2 separate regions of the Homo sapiens genome follow, and region 2 is linked to region 1. The links are contacts of gene promoters, found by promoter capture Hi-C in human tissues and cell types (Jung and others, 2019). All regions are on one chromosome and are shown on one strand. Each heading gives the region's core, a stretch centred on a gene start or on the middle of the fragment in contact. The rest is flanking DNA. Distances are from core to core; before and after follow the strand shown.

Region 1 (7,930 bases), core at 1,700-4,199:
CGCCGCCTGCTGGCCACGCACCAGGAGCAAATAGCCCACCACCCACCGAGGATGGGGGAAGGGAAAGGTACCGACATTTGAAAAAAAAAAAAAAAGAAAAAGAAAAAGAATAGAAAATCGGCTCTAGCCATCTGTGCAACCCTCCTATAAGTTCCTGCGCCTTAAACAGGGCTTTGCACAGCCCTTGAATCTTCTCGGGATGTCTTTCCCTCCCCTGACCTGGGCCAGAGAGTCCCTTTCACCCCTGCGCTAACAGGTTTCTGTCCAGGCAGTGCACCCAGCAACCCCCTAAACCCCCACCCGGTTTAGCCACCAACTTTCTCCAATTTTATTCCTCAGACTGCGCTGCAAAAGAGAGGTGGGGGACCGGGTGAGGGCCCGTGATGGCCTAGAGGAGGGCTCCCCAGGAGAGGGTGGAAGGAACTTTAGTGAAGGCGAGAATTGGAGAGCACCCCTTTTGCAACGGCATTCTCTCAGCCCCTTCTCTTTACCCCGAGGAGAGACTTGGGGGAAACAGGACCTCTCTGCCCCTAGCACTGCCTCCAAAATGCTCCCCAGGCCAAGACATACGAGCACTAACAAAGGGGACGCGACCCGGGGTCCAGTGCCCCAGGGAGGCAGCCGGACCCGAGTTCGGTCTTTACCTGAATCGCTCAGGGTGTCCTCTCCGGAGGTACTGAGGGCCTTGTGGTCGCCGCCGCTGGTCTGGCGGCCGCCTGGGCGCGGAGGGGCGACCCCCGGGGCCCCGGCTGGGGCGGCAATACCCGCCCCCGAGGCGACCGCAGGGCCCGCCGCCGGGGCACTGGCCGGGGCTGCGGGCACGGGCGCTGGCTCGCGCTTGTTCACGGGAAAGGGGAAGACCACGGCGGGATCCACGCACTCGGCGGCCGGGTGGGCGAGCTCGGCGGGCAGGGCGGCCCCGGCGCGGCCGGCTCCCGCAGCCCCGCCGTGCCCGCGACCCGCAGGGCTGGCGGCGCCGGCTCCCGGGGACTGGGCGGTGGAACCGGCGGTTGGCGGCCCGCGGCCGTGCTGCAGCTTCTCGCTCACGGCGCGCTCCAGCTTCTCGCGGGCGGAGAAGCCGCTCCACATGCAGTCCTGGAGGATGACCGGGTTGGGGGTGAGGCCACCCAGTCCCCCCAGGCCGAACGCGTCCTCCTCGGCCGGGCTGCCCCACAGCTCGTTCTCAAGCAGCATCTCCGTGACCCAGCTCGGGGGCTCGGAGCTGTGCTCCGCGAAGCCACGGCTGGGCGACAGCGGGGGCGTGGGCAGCAGCTCAAACTTCTTCCAGATGTCCTCCCCCGGGGGGGTCGAGTCGGGGCCGCCGAAGTAGAAGTCATCTTCGTCCGGGTAGAAGCAGGGCTGTAGCGAGTCAAACTCGAGGTCTGGGTTCTTGCAGATCATGCCCGGCATGGTGGACGTGGAGCAGCTCGGCATCGGCTCGCCTCCCGGCCGGCGACTGAGGGCTTCTTTCCGCCCCGTTCGTTTTAATACCGGGGGTGCTTCCTTCCCGTGGGGGGCGCGGAAGGCGGGGGCCGGCGCCGACCTCCAACACTGCAACCGACAGACACACCGGAGAGGGTGGGCAAACGGGGCAGACCGAGGGGATAGGCAATGGGCGCCCCCTCTAACCAGGTTCCCCAATCTTCCCTCCAAGCCCCCCACTCTGCCCACTGCTCCCGAAGGTGGAGGAAGTTGTGCCTCTCGCTCCCTCCCTCCCGCCCTCCTTTTGTGTACAAGCTGTCTACGACAGGGGGTGGGAGGGGGCATGCAGATGCAGGGGGTGGTGGCGAGGCTCCGCAACTTTGGAAACTGCCATTTCATTCACACAAGGCACTGCCTGGGGGAGGGGGCTGTTCCTGGCTGCAGAATTCTAGCTCTCACGAGCACGCAGACAACCGCACTCGCAGCGGTGTGGGGCCGGCTGCTCAGGGGAAGCCCCAGGCTCTCCGACCCAGCTACCGGGAATGGTATTTGGAGTACCTTCTACCCCCTTTGTAAAAATGCAACCTCAGGAGTGCAAATGATAGCAGGGGATTTAGAAAACTTTGCAAATAAAAAAAAGCCTTTCTCTAGACAGAGACCAACAACAGACACCCATATCCACAAATCCTTCCCCTCCCCAAATTTGAGCAAACGCCCCTCGGCATTCACCCGCTGCAGGGATACTCCTGCCAATAGCTTAATTGGAAGCTCTCTAAGCCCACCCCTGCTCTTCCAAACCCACGACAACGTCCTCTTCCAGGGAGGGAGAGGCTGAGCCCCTGTTCCCGGGAATGGCAGGGGCGCCCGCGCGAGGAGGGTCGCCGGGAGAGCCGCCTCTCCTCCAAGCTGGAGCAGCCGTGACCCAGATTGCGACCGCGGCGGCCTCGCCCTGCCTAATCCCCCCCTCTTCTTCCTCCAGGGGCACCCTTTGGAGAAGAACCCCAGCCTGGGGTGGGGACGCACCGGCTCTCCGACAGCTCAAACACAGACAGATCTTCTAGAGCCGAGGGAATTTCTTTTCGCAGAAGCCATTACTCCCCCCGGTAAGGGCTGCAAAAGGATTAGGGCGGGTCTCCTCTAGCCAGGATGCCTTCGGGGCTGGAACTGGCTTTTCTGGGAAAACCCAGAGATGGTTTTGTTTCGGAAGCAGAAACAGTCCCCCGGGCATATTAGGGCGCCCGGTGCGCACGTCGCAATCCCGTCCAGGGCTTGCCTTGCCCCGGCGCTCGTCGCTTCCCTGGGCGCCGGGCGGTTTGCAAGCCCTGCTCCTTACCTCCCGCCGACTGCAGGGGATCCGGAGGCGATTCTGCGCGGGTGTCTCCGGGTGGGCCGGGGGGGCGGGGGTGTCCTCGGATGGCTACAGTCTGTGCGCGCTTGCGCCTGGCTAGCGCTTGCTCGGCTCCAACACAGTTCCCAGGAGCCCCCCGCATCCACCCAGCGCGTCCAGACAGATGACTGTCACAGCCTGCGCTTTGAAGCTCGGGGGATATTATTAACTGAAAAATCTGACACACCCGGGGGGCGGGGAGAGAAGGGGGCTGTGGCGCAGACAAGGGGGAGGGAGAAAGGAGAGGAAAGCGGCTTTACCCCGCCCTCCTGATTTCCATAAAAATCAGGGGAGGCGCCAAGGCTTTCGCGCCAAAAGCCACTTGCTTTTCTTTGCAGAGAGAAGGCTGCAAAGCTGGGAAGCCCAGGGTGTGCTCCTCCCGCCCTTTTGGACCCCCGGGCTTGCACCGGCTGCACTCTGAGAACCAGCTGCGCGCGGAGCGGTGCAATGCAGCACCCACCCTGCGAGCCTGGCAATTGCTTGTCATTAAAAGAAAAAAAAATTACGGAGGGCTCCGGGGGTGTGTGTTGGGGAGGGGAGACCGATGCTTCTAACCCAGCCCCCGCTTTGACTGCGTGTTGTGCAGCTGAGCGCGAGGCCAACGTTGAGCAAGGCCTTGCAGGGAGGTTGCTCCTGTGTAATTACGAAAGAAGGCTAGTCCGAAGGTGCAAAATAGCAGGGAGAGGACGCGCCCCCTTAGGAACAAGACCTCTGGATGTTTCCAGTTTCAAATTGAAAGAAGAGGGGCGCCCCCCTTGTTTGAAAATAAATAAATAAATAAGTGCGAGCTACGAGGGTGGCGCCGCGGTGGTTTCTTCGGCCGAAGGCGACACCTCGCGGAGACTGAGCAGAAAGCGGAGCTGCCCGGCCTTGGCGCGGACCTGGAGTGCGGCCACTCCGCAGGTCTCCCGCCGCCCCCGCGGGACTGTCCACGCGTCCTCACCACTGCGGAGGAGGAGGCGGCCTGGCTCTGCTTCCTAGGGGGAATGGGCGTACGTTCCCTGCAGCCGTCCCCAGGGCTCCCAAGTTAACCTTTTCAAAGCCACCATTCTCCCCAGTTATGGGCAGGCGAATCTGATTTACCGAGATGGAAGTGCTGTCCACACCTCCTGAGACCCAGCCTCGGCTCAAACAGCTTGATTCCAAACTGTTGAAGGGAAAAAGGAAAGCTGCTGTCACTACTTCGTTTCTTTGTGCCTCAGTTTCCTCAATTGTGAAATGGAGTTCGTAGTGCCTCCTACCTGAGAGTTATGAAAGCTCTTATAAGTCCCCAGCCCATAATAGTTGTGTCAGCTATTATTATGATGATGACCACGACATGCTATTCTTCTGGGGAAAATAACACCCCTCTGTCCAGCAGCAGCATTGGCCCCTTCCCTTCCCGCCACCATCAAATCCTGGCTTTACTTCACTCTGGTCTAGCTTTTCTTACAGGTGTATTTGTTTGCAGGGGGTCAGACATTATTGCCCCTGCCCTCCAAACTCTCCAAAAACAACCCTGATCTCCTGGACAGCCCCCTTCACAACCAAATACACAGTGAGGTGGGATTTTGCCTTGAAAAACATTCCTTAGGCTTGTTTGGAGAGAGGGGAACCTGGCCCTGGGATTGGGGTGGGAAGGCTTCCCCGCCTCTCCCTACTTTTTTCTCCAAACTGGAAATGCCATTCTCCATCGCCCCCACCTCTTCACCTCACCATTGGATCTAGTTAAGGAGGAGGATGCTGAGGGTCAGGGGGCAACCCATAAAATGCTCACAGATTAGCATTTGTGAAGGCCTTTCCAGCCCTGACCCTGGACGCCTACAGAGCTCTAGGGAGAAAGATTCCCAGAGTTCTAGGAAGAGGCCCATGAATGCGGATGAGCAGCCCTTCCAAGCACCTTTATTATTGTTATTTCCCTCACAAATGTAAAAGCCTTCATCTTTGCAAAAGCCTTTTACAGCCCCACTTCTGCTTTTCCCTAGCCCCCTAATCGCCACCAAGCCCTCCTGCTGAATTCTCGCCTAGCATCCTGTCCTTTCCTGTCCAGCACTCACCTCCATTTGTAATGATCCATGCCTGGGAGTATTTGTTTAGTGCTCACTTCCGTGACACTGTGGAAGACAGGCTCAGTCTCCCTCACTAACCTGTGACCTGGGTCAGTTTTGCTCCAGAGGGAATCCTTACGGCACAGCAGTGTACCTGTATATAGTAAGTACTCATGGTATTATTCAAGACCAAGATCACTGAATGAGTCCTTCTAAGGTGGCCAGATCTTCTGTGGCAAGACTGTGAAAATAGGCCAGGATGGGTTCAGTTGCTCCGATTCAAAGTCCTACCTTTGTCCTTTCTCCTCAGATGAATGACCATCACTAGGTCATTCACCCTTTGTCGAGGGACAAGGTGTAGCAGAAAAGGGGGACAGAGGGACAGGAGACCTGGTTACTCTACATGCCTTTGAGCAAATCATTTATACTTCCTGGACCTCAATCTCTAATCTCCTGCTTTTAATGCAAGCCAGTAATTACTGACAAGTCTGAATCTGAAGGTTAACAGAATGATAAAATTCAACAAATATTTATTGGTTACCTTCATTTGTAAGTAGAAAGATAAAAGACTTTGTACATGGAGAAAACATGCTAATGCTGATTCTTAGTCTGCTTATAGAGAAGCCTGAAAATCCCTCTTAAAAATGTTGAAATACTTCAACTATGTGAACACACACAAAACAAATCTTCATATGGTTTCAAAGCCAAGGTTTTGTTCAGTACTGCCATGGTTTGAATGTGTCCTCCAAAAAAAAACACGTTGGAAGTTTAACCCCCAGTGCAACAGTGTTGGAGGGGAGGTCCCCAAATGCCAGTGGGACCTAGACCCCAGCCAGTGTCCAGGCTCTTGACACCATCAAGAGAATGAATTCAAAGACCAGTTGGAAAATAGTGAAAGTACGATTTATTGCAAAGGGAAAAGTACACACTCAAGAAAAGGGAATATGGGTGTACTCGAGAGACTCACACGAAAGGGGGTTTGGGGTTGCTACCTTTACGGGTTTCTTTAACCAAGAGGCAGAATATTCATGATCATTCCTAGAAAAAGAAGGAGATTTCTCAGAACTGTGACACCACCTATTTTTAAACCAAATATGGGTGTTCTCGGAAGTGTCATGATGCTAGTGGGGTGTGTGATTTAGTATGTTAATGAGCGTATAATGAGGTCCTAGGAGAAACCTAGGTCAAATCCAGTGCCATGCTGGGTTCAGTGGGTCTTAGCCAGCTTGGTCTACACTCTGTTTTTCACGGTCTTAGCCCATGGCCTCTGCAGCCATTTCAACAGTTTCCTTTTGCTAGTCATGTGAAATTGCTGCCCAAAATCTTCTATTATTCTGCAGCCACCTTATATTATTCCTGTCTCAGGACCTAATGTGAGGTGTTTAGGTCATGAGGGCTCCACTCTTGTGAATGGATTAATGCTAATTATAAAAGGGCTTGAGGCTAGGAGTTTGATCTCTTGCCCTCTCTTCCTTTTTCCTGCCAGGGGATGGTACGCCATGAAGGCCCTCAGCAATTGCTGGCACCTTGATATTGGACTTCTCAGCCTCCAGAAACATGAGAAATACATTTCTTTTCTTTATAAATTACCCAGTCTGTGCTATTAGGTTATAGCAACACAAAATGAACTGAGACAAGTACCCATCTATTACTGTGTCTGAGCCCCTGGGTGGGTTTGGAACAGAGGTAAGTTAAGGTACAGCCGCAAGGAGCTCACTGTGGACCAGGGAAGGAGACCCACATCTGAAATGGATGCCTCAATCTAATCACCAACTGCTAGGATAGAGTTATACACAGCATTTGGTTTATAATTAAGGTGATTTTTGAGAGAGGAGAATATTTTAGTTTACAAATCTCCTCTTTACTAAGACACACACACACAAAGAAACAACACACACATACACATGTTGAGAAGGGCCCAAATCATGACTGGCTAGGAGAGCAACAGCCTCTAGATGGTTTTTCCAGATTGTGAATTAAAGATCTGCTGGGTTGGCCAGGCATGGTGGCTCACGCCTGTAATCCTGGCACTTCAAGAGTCTGAGGAGGGCAGATGGCTTGAGCCCAGGATTTTGAGACCGGCCTGGGCAACATGGTGAAACCCTGTCTCTACAAAAAATATAAAAATTAGCTGGGCGTGGTGGGTGCGTGCCTGTGGTCCCAGCTACTTGGGAGGCTGAGGCAGGAAGATCACCTGAGCCCAGGGAGATCAAGGCTGCAGTGTGCCATCATCACACCACTGCACTCCAGCCTGGATGACAGAGTGAGACCTTGTCTCAAAAGAAAAAAAAAAAGATCTACTGAGTCTGTCTTCAGGGACAAGAGCACAGTTTCTCCTAGGATCTTCACACCTCCCTCAAAATGTGTACATTTTTACTGATTAAATAATTTAAAAATCCTTGGGATCGATTGACTTCATTTGGAAAACAGTAAAGCTAGCTCTCTGCCTAACCCAAATGCAAAAAAAAAAAAAAAAAGGGCAGGGGAGGGGTGGGGGTGCTGGATGTAAGAATTTTACTATGATAAAAAGTTGACAACAGTAATAGAAAATACTTGCCATATATATGAGTCAAAGATTAGATCCCAGGTATACAAAGAGCTCCCACAAATTGAATAGAAAAAAACGGGCAGACAGAAATATGACTCTAGGATACGAGCAGGTAATTTACTGAATAAGAAATGCAAATTGTCAATAAACATATGAAAAGATGCTCAACTTCACCGGTAGTCAGGGGAATGCAAATTAAATCTCAGTGAGATTAACATTTTTGGGTCTAGCAGATTGGCCCAAAGTACTGGCCAGCCTGGGGAGTGGGAGCAGGGGCCTCACATACACTGTTGGTGTGCCTGCCCCAAGAGGAAAAGCAATTCCACTCTTCATGATCCATCCTACGAGAAATAATAAGACAAACACATAAAAGCATATAAACAAGAATGTGTGTGGCTGCATCATTCTCAATAACAAAAATACTATAAGCAATCTAAATATCCATAACTAAAACAAATTAAACAGGAGAATGGTATGTAATACATCCATGCAGTGGAATTACATACACCCACTAAAAATAATGTGTTAGGTCTATAGTTACAGACG
Region 2 (7,930 bases), core at 2,896-5,395, 130 kb after region 1:
TTACAATTTTAAATAGCCAGCATCTTTCAACATTTGGTCACTCTGCCAACACAGAGCCCTAGTTATGTGGCAGGCATGATCATAGGTTACAGAGACAAATCAGGCATAGTCCTCCTCTCCAAGAGCTCCCGGTCTAGTGAGACAGAAAGGCATATAAGCAGTGATATGACGGAGTGGTAAGAGGTTGAAAGAGCAAATCAGCTAGGCTAGTACTAGCGGCTGTAACAAGTAATCCCCAATATGTCAGAGGTTTCCCACAGTAGAAGTTAATTTCTCACTCATGTCAGAGGCCAGTGCACATGTATCAGTTGGCAGGGGGCAGACTGTGGGGGTAGTCACTGCTGGAGAGTCAGGGAAAGTGTCCCCAGCAGGGGACAGAATGGCCAGCATTTAAGAGCGGACTGGTTAAGTCAGCTCAGGAGCTGGTTGAAATTAGAGCTAATGTGCTCAGTATGTCCCATCCAGAAAAAGCTAGTGATAGTCTTCGTTAGGGTGGAAATACACAATATTCATAGAAGACAATAAGGGGCACCTGTTGGGAAAATCTCTGCTTGGCTGTCTTGCCCCCTTTGCAGTTAGGTAATTTAGCATGATGAAGATAGTCATGTCTAGGAAACAACGCTATCTCTACTTTCAATCTTTCCAATGCATTCAGATGGAGTCTGAAAGACAATGCGCTAAGAAAGATGTGTCCAGTTCAGACCTGTAACATTTGCACAGGGGGGCTTGGGTAGAAGAACTGAGAGGTACATTTCCCCATAGGTGGCGAGCCTCCCACTGTGTGAGCAGGTGCTTAAAAGGTCAAAGAGCAACGAACAGAGTGTCCTGCTGGCCTTTAAAGATGGAAGAAACCGCTGACCATGTCGAGCCCAGGAACCAGAGATTCTGAGGCTAAATGAGACTTGAAGGTCACCTGGCCCAATCTCACCCATATCTGAATCCCTGAGTACAGCATTTTTCAGGATGGCTGCCCACTCTCAGATCAGGTCATCTCACAGCGACTGGACAGGCTGGTAAGCTCTCAGAGAAAGATTTCCTCCCAGTCAAGTAGAATCTGGCTCCTGGACCTTCCAACCACAGGCCCTCGTCCTACCTAGTAGACCCTCAGTTTGTCTTTGTCATTGTAGAGCTGAGGAAACAGAAGGAAGGAGGGACGTGCCCAAGTCACTCAGCAAACTCACGGCAGTGCTGGGAACGGGAACCAGCTCTCCTTCTACTCAGGATTGGCCTCTTCCCACTTCATTGTGTCAAATCTATTTACAAAAGAGAAAAACCAAAGGGTTTGTGTTTCTTCCAACTTGGTTTTGAATCTCGGAGGTTTTCCTGGTGAGACAGAAGGCACGTGGGAGGCTGGAGGAGGGGCTCTGCTTCTCCAGGGGACTGGAGGTGTCAGGGAAATGTGACATGAGGAAACACATTTGCACAGAAGGAAAATGGGGGAAAGGGAGCAATTTTCAAACCTTCAAGCAATTAGGAAAAAAGGCATCTCCGGAAATAAAAAATGACCCTTTCAGGAATGTTCTTTCAGAGAGTGAACAAGAAGCCCACACATCTATTACATAAACTAAATAGTCATTTTACCTGATTTTCTGCATAATTGATGGGGATATCAACATAATCACTCTGGATTCATTAACAGGTCTTGAAAACTAGTTTTAACACTTGCAACACACTAAAAAAATAAAATATAATATAATAAAGCAGGAAAGATAATCCTCCTGGAAGGAATTCATTTCAATGCCCCACAAACGGGCCTGCACAGATAACAGTTCCCTTGGAAAACTGCATGTCTCACTCAGCAATGTTTACGTCTGCCCCACGCCACCGCACAGGATGAATCCACACCCCCCCCCCCACCCGGTTTGATGTTGAGCTGCCAAGGCTTTCTGTCTGGGGTGCTCAGAGAGCTGCTCCTCCAAGACAGTCCGACTATACCCAGGACTGGGGCAGGGAATGAAAGGCCGGCTGCAGAGGAGATGGCTCACTTCAGGAGAAGCAGCGGGCAGATCTCCAGGTTCTGGAGATGGGGAGCTGAACTCTGAGCTGCCATGCACTTGCTGAGTGATCTCTGGCCTCAGTTTCCTCCTCTATGAAATGAGTCAAGTTCAATACCCACTTCTTGAAATTATACATGTGAAATGCTTAGCACATGGTCAGTGCTTACAGAAATGGCCTATTATTATTCTGTGCAGATACCTTCCCTTCCCAGGAAGAGCTCCCAGGCATTGGAAAAGCAGAGCATTAAGTGCTCTGTAGGAGAACCTGGAAATAGAAGCGGCACCACACAAAGGAGAGGTGACTGCTTCTCTCTGGAAGGGAGGGAGTTCGCTGAGATGGCTCCACTCAGATGGGACTTTGAGGATAGACTAGAGGAAGTGGGAGGACATTCCAGGCAGAAGGACTGGTTTGTACAAAGGCTCAGAGGGAGGAAACCGCAGGGCCAGTATGGAGACCTGCTGTGAGGTCAGCAGAGCTGGTGCATGAGGAGCAAAGGGTGGGGTGAGGCTCATTCCTTGAGACAAGAGAGGAAGGCTGGGTCTTGCCCTGCATGGTACCCAAAGGTGATGTCCACAGGAGTGCTTCACCTGCTCTGCAGAGCAGGGCCTGGCCTCTGCAAGGGAGTCCTCCTGGGAGCCCCAGAGCCTGGGAGCTGGCAAGAGCACTGAGCTGTGGCGAAAGCCCACCCCCATCCCCACCCCCACTGCCCCTCATGGTCTGAGGAGTCGGCCTGGCTTTACAGTTGCCCAAGAAACAAGTCTAGTTGCCCAGGTTAGAGGTCTGGCTCTATGGCAAAGCAAACAGAAGTTGCAAAACACCCAAGTGCTTGGAATGCTGGTTGCAGGGCCCCGGGGGAGCACTTGGGAACCAGTGGTTGCAAATGTAGATGGGGATGCTGGAGACAAAGATGGGGAAGGCCTTGAGTGTGGCCCCAAAGGGAATTGGCGACAAATTCAGACAGAAAACTATGAACCAGGTCTCCTAGGTTCTGGGACAGTGCTTTTTCAGTTGCAGTTTGCTACCTCTCAGCCAGCGCCATTGTGCTGCCCAGCTCCAGGGCGCCATGCTTCCAATAGACCATGTGAAGAGCAGACCTGGAGTTGTGCAGGGCACAGCTTGCATGGCCATACACAGCAGCCCCACACCCGGCATCCAGCTGTCCAGATGGTTAGAGCTTGACCCTTCTCCAGGGAGTGATTCTGACATTGTGTGGACACAGAACCTGATGCCAACAGCCATCCACAGGAGCTCAGAACTCATTTAGTCCAGGGTCAGTAACTATGGTGCATATATGAAGCCTTTGCTCCACCCTAACCAGTCCATGGCTGGGTAATCAATGCAAATGTTCCTGCTGATCCAGGAACCCACCAATTCTTCTCAAAACAGTGTCCAGCATGGCCATTGCTAATTCCTCATTTGAAATGTATTCATATTTATTCAGTGCCAGGCTCTACTCTCAGTGCCACTTGGAGTTGTCCTCAACGCAGTACGTAAGTTCTGATCTGTCAGCTCAGTGTCCACATGAGAAGTCTGCTGGTTAGTGGATCCCCATCTGCAGACTCCAATTCTCTTTTCCATCCAACATGATGCCTTTCAACCTCCCTATTCTTTCAACACTGCAGCTAAACTGTAGGCAGCAGAGAAATCTCAACCCTAAGAGAGACTTTGCTTTTCTCAAGTTTCTTGTCATTTGCACCTCAAAGGCCACAAAAACTAGCCAAATCCTCCCTGCCAGTCCAGATTCCCTTATCATTTACAAACAAATTTGCATGTGGTGGCTCAGCCAGCAGTCGCAGAGCCTAAATCTGAGCCAGGTCCTTGTCCACAGCCTGTTGTCTCTGGCCACGCCCTACTGCCTTTCCAGGCTGACTGAGAAACTGCAGCCCTGTGCTCATCACGCTGCCATTCATCTCGGATTTGTCAACGTGGATTTCAATTTTAAGCTTTTTCCTTCAAAATATCCTGCTTGCATTTGGCATTGGCTTCTGCAACTGTGCAGTTTGAGAACAATATGAAAATCAGCATTTCATCAAGCTGTAACGCTTGTTAAATGAGATCTTGAAGTCCCTAGAATTATTCTTCCAGAATCGAGTGGAACAAAAGATGCCTGAATTTTAAACATTCAGTTTGAAAAAAAAAAAAAAGAACTGAAATGTGTACACGTCCTTGAATTTCTAAAAACTAAGCCCAAGCAGGGACAGTTGGGGGATTTTCCATCCTGTGAGATTTTCGTAGTGGAATTAACCTCATTACAAGAGCGCAGTGAGTGTGGGGCGGGGAGGAAAGGGGGGTGAAGGTGGGGCTCCTGGTGTGTGGCTCTGGACAGACATCTCTCCTTCTCTGGGTCCACATTTTCCATCAGTCCTATGAGGGATGGACCAGGTGCCCTCTCTGTTTCCTCCCACCTGTGACTGTCGGTGCATGTGGCCTCCAATTCATCACAATTTGCACTTGAGACAAAGTGATCTGTCTATCCCGAGTGCACCCTCTCTGCATTCATCACAGCTTCTCCTCCTTCCAGAAATTCAGTCTCATGTTCATCTGCAGGGATACCCCAGGAGTAGCTTGATAATCATCAAGAGCATTCAGCCCAAACCACAACTACCCATCCCAGGCCTATGGAGGGAGACCTCCATGCCCCAAGGGAGGCTGGAAGCCTTAAAACCTCTCTAGGCTGGGTGTGGTGGCTTACAACTATAATCCCAGATACTCAGGAGGCTGAGGAGGGAGGATCACTTGAGCCCGGGAGGTTGATGCTGCAGTGAGCTATGATGGCGCCACTGCACTCCAGCCTGGACAACAGCAAGACCGTGCCTCTAAGAAAAAAAAAAAGAAACAACTACCTCTCCAGCCCACTGCCCCACAGGAATGCGAGGCATCTCCTGGCCTGCCTCCTTCCAGCGGAGGAGGGCCTGCAGGAGGCACAGGCAGCCCATCCAGCCCCTCCAGAGAATCCACGCCTGAGATCAGGGACCTGCTTCCTGGGTGGATCTCAGCCAACTAAGTCAAGGGCGGCTGGACAGTCCATGACTCTACCATATAGACCTAAAAGAAATGTGACTCCGGAGAAGTCATTTCCCAGGAAAATGCATTGAAACTTCCCCTTCCCCCCCACCAGGCTCCTCCTCCGAGGGCATATGGGAGAAAGGAGTGAGGAAAGAAGGGAAGGCCACAGACCTGTCCAGTACCCTAGTGGGAGGTGTCCTGAGACCTTGAATAACCTCCTGTCTTCCCAGGTACCCTCCACCATTATTTGGCAGAATCTGATGATGTGTTCATACCCTAAGCCTTCTCCAGCTCTTTGGAAAACAATTCACGGTTTGATCTCTTCTGCAGACATTTTTTCCCTGGCCTCCTGCTCTGTTCCAGATGTAGGGCCCTGAACTGAAGGCAAAGGCCTTGAGAACAGTGGCCCATGCCCCGGGGAGCTCTCTGTTCCCCCCTCACACCCTCCATCAAGGGCAGAGTCCCAGCCAAGCTTCGGGGCCAGTACATTCTTATCTTGGAAACTTGTAATGTGCTCTCAGGCTCAAAGACTAGCTGGGGTGGGTGGTGGGGGTGCTGGACCCACAGCAGCTATAGACTGACAGGGAAACAATGCCCGACACCGGGCCCTTCCCACATGCCCTGCTGAGGACCGACCTGAGTTTCTGAGGCGCCTCTGCCGGGCCCTGTGTGGAGGGAGGAGGCAGAGAATGGGTGACGGGACCCTGGACAAGCCAAAGCGGTGAGTGGGGCTCACACTGGAACAGGCAGAATTGGTCACTGGGGGGAGTGAGGGGATGGGGAGAGACTGGAATCATATTATTAAAAAGGGATTTCCAGAAGCTTTGCCAAGCATGAAGAATGCAGACTCCCTTCAGACACGGAAGGCAAGATTCTATTGCTTGTAAATTATTGTGGATGCTGGACTGGTGTTTGTGGAGCAGAGACCGGGTCTCAAGGCAGCTTAGCCTTGGTTATATTCAGTCCTAGGCTCTAGGTATAACTAGACGCATCTTATTCTCCCCAACCCGTCACCTGCCACGATGAGCCTCTTAGGGGCAGACTTCGCGTCTTGCTCTGTCTCTGATGCGTCCTCGCCACCGAGGCCCCACGCATGTGTTTTGAGGGAGCATAGGCTGAGAGAAGAGGCCAAGGGAGGGGCTGCAGCCAGGCAGGCTCTGCGAGCTCTTCTCCCGATCATTTCCGTCTTCTCACTGGCCCATAGGTGTCTAACCCCCTAGCACATGCTAGAGCTCTGTCTTAAGAGATGACTTGGAAAGACAGATGGGGAGGGAGGAGATGGGGAACCCAGTAGGCACTGATATGACTGTCCCAAACTCCTCAACACTGGCCCTCGGTGGGGCTGAGCCACGAGGAGCAAGAGGGCAAGAGGGCAAGAGGAAAGAGGAGGGCAGGAGGCAGGAGGTGAAGGAGAGAGGAAGACCGGGGAAGAGGAGAGGGAATGTCACACGCAGAGAGGAGGAAGAGGAGAGGCGGAGGGATGAGGAAGGCCCAGGAGAGGCAGAATGAGGCAGAAGGCACGGCCCAGGGCCCCGCTCCTTATTTCATTGGCCAAATACGCAAGAGCTTTCAACACGGCTGCTACTTGAGGCAGCATTTCCTCCAACTCTCTTTCTTGTTTTGAGGCAGAGACCAGGCTGTCTCCCCACCCACCTCATCAGCATTCCAGGTGATCTGTAAGAGGAGGCCGCTGGGAGGACCCTGGGTGGGACAGGACTCCCAGGTGACTCCCACCGCCTCCTGCGGGGTACCCACTAGCTTCCCTCTCTCTGGTTAGGAGACAGCTGGAGCCGCGTTCTGAGGAGGGCTGGAGGCCCACTTCTCCAACAAAGCAGCGATTTCCCCTAGCACCATCTAGCCTCCTCCCCAAAGTCCTCGGGGAAGGGCAATTTGTGGAAACGGAGCTGCTGGGTAATAGATTTCTCTGTCAACATGATGACTGAAAGAAAGGGCGAAGTAATTAGCAGTAATGCACTTCAATTACGGCTCCGCCTCCCATCCCCCACCCAACCCCAGCTCCCTTCCCCATTTAATTTTCATCTAAAACAAAACAGTTGCCACAGACCCAAAGCTAAAAACAGAAATCCCTTTCAGCTCCCGGCAAATTAGCAGGAATGTCTTATTATGGAAGCGGTGGGCGAACTTATTCCAGAGCAATACAGGAAGCAGGACTCCCGGCCGGTATCCCTTGCCTTGCAACCCCACTCTCAATGCTCCCAGCAATTAACCTTGTCCCTCCAGGCCCCAGATCACCCTCCCCTCACAGGCCTGGCTCAGCCTCTTTCAAAGCCCTTGCCTGAGGAATTCTGTCAAAAATCAGTAGCACCTTAGAGGAGGCCCGAGGTCAGGGGACTTCCTTGCTACACAGGAAGGCGTGTTCTATCAGAAAAGGGAAATGTTCTCAGACCCTCAGATCTTGGGCGACTAAAAATAAACTAATAGGCCTTAAATTAACTTTTTCTTTCTTTTCCCCGACCTCCTAGCCCCTACTTTCCACCAAGACTTTTCAACTTGAAGGAAAAGCATTTATTATCTGAGAGTGACACACAGGAAATTAGACTTATAAATTGTGCTTAAAATGTTATAGTTTCCAACTTTCTTTAATGCTAATCTTAATGCTAATAGGTTGTGAGATATGTGTTTTGACTTGAGAGATTCTTTTTTTCTTTTCTAATTAATTCTCGGCTACACCACATGAAACATTTGTGGTGGAGGAGTTCCAGGAGTTTGCACGCAGTTGGAGAGAGGGACTCCTGTCGGAGCTCAAAACGGCCATTTTCCTATAGAAGCTTCCAGAAAAATCCTTCTTGGCTAGTGTAAATTTAGTCCATCCGGAAAGCCAAAGCACTCGCTCGCCATTGGAAAATGCAAAATAAAGGATTTGTGTTATCCTGGCGTTCCGATCCCCAGGTTACCTCTACAGCCT

Evidence for each region. The method cuts DNA at HindIII sites, captures the fragments that hold promoters and counts their contacts. A contact is called where the count stands out against the background at its distance.
Region 2: a contact is called between a fragment that was not itself captured here and the fragment with the promoter of MYCN in region 1, in 1 of the 25 tissues and cell types used here (H1 embryonic stem cells).

The regions. Positions count from the first base shown.
Region 1 is chr2:15,935,569-15,943,498 of GRCh38, reverse strand. MYCN (MYCN proto-oncogene, bHLH transcription factor) reads right to left here and starts at 2,949. Exons shown (of 3, transcript NM_005378.6): 1 at 2,756-2,949; 2 at 645-1,551. The coding sequence starts at 1,434. It overlaps MYCNOS (MYCN opposite strand), which reads left to right and starts at 1,814. Exons shown (of 4, transcript NR_110230.2): 1 at 1,814-1,967; 2 at 2,402-2,525; 3 at 4,774-4,999; 4 at 6,323-7,234. MYCNUT (MYCN upstream transcript) reads right to left here. Exons shown (of 3, transcript NR_125783.1): 3 at 7,481-7,725. RefSeq lists enhancers at 2,821-3,351, 4,396-4,953. The HindIII fragment of the contact is 20,661 bases long and covers 1-7,930 here.
Region 2 is chr2:15,808,530-15,816,459 of GRCh38, reverse strand. No RefSeq gene overlaps it. Among named protein-coding and RNA genes, the nearest start is that of MYCNUT, 110 kb to the left of the region's middle. RefSeq lists enhancers at 5,022-5,749, 6,478-7,205. The HindIII fragment of the contact is 5,331 bases long and covers 1,480-6,810 here.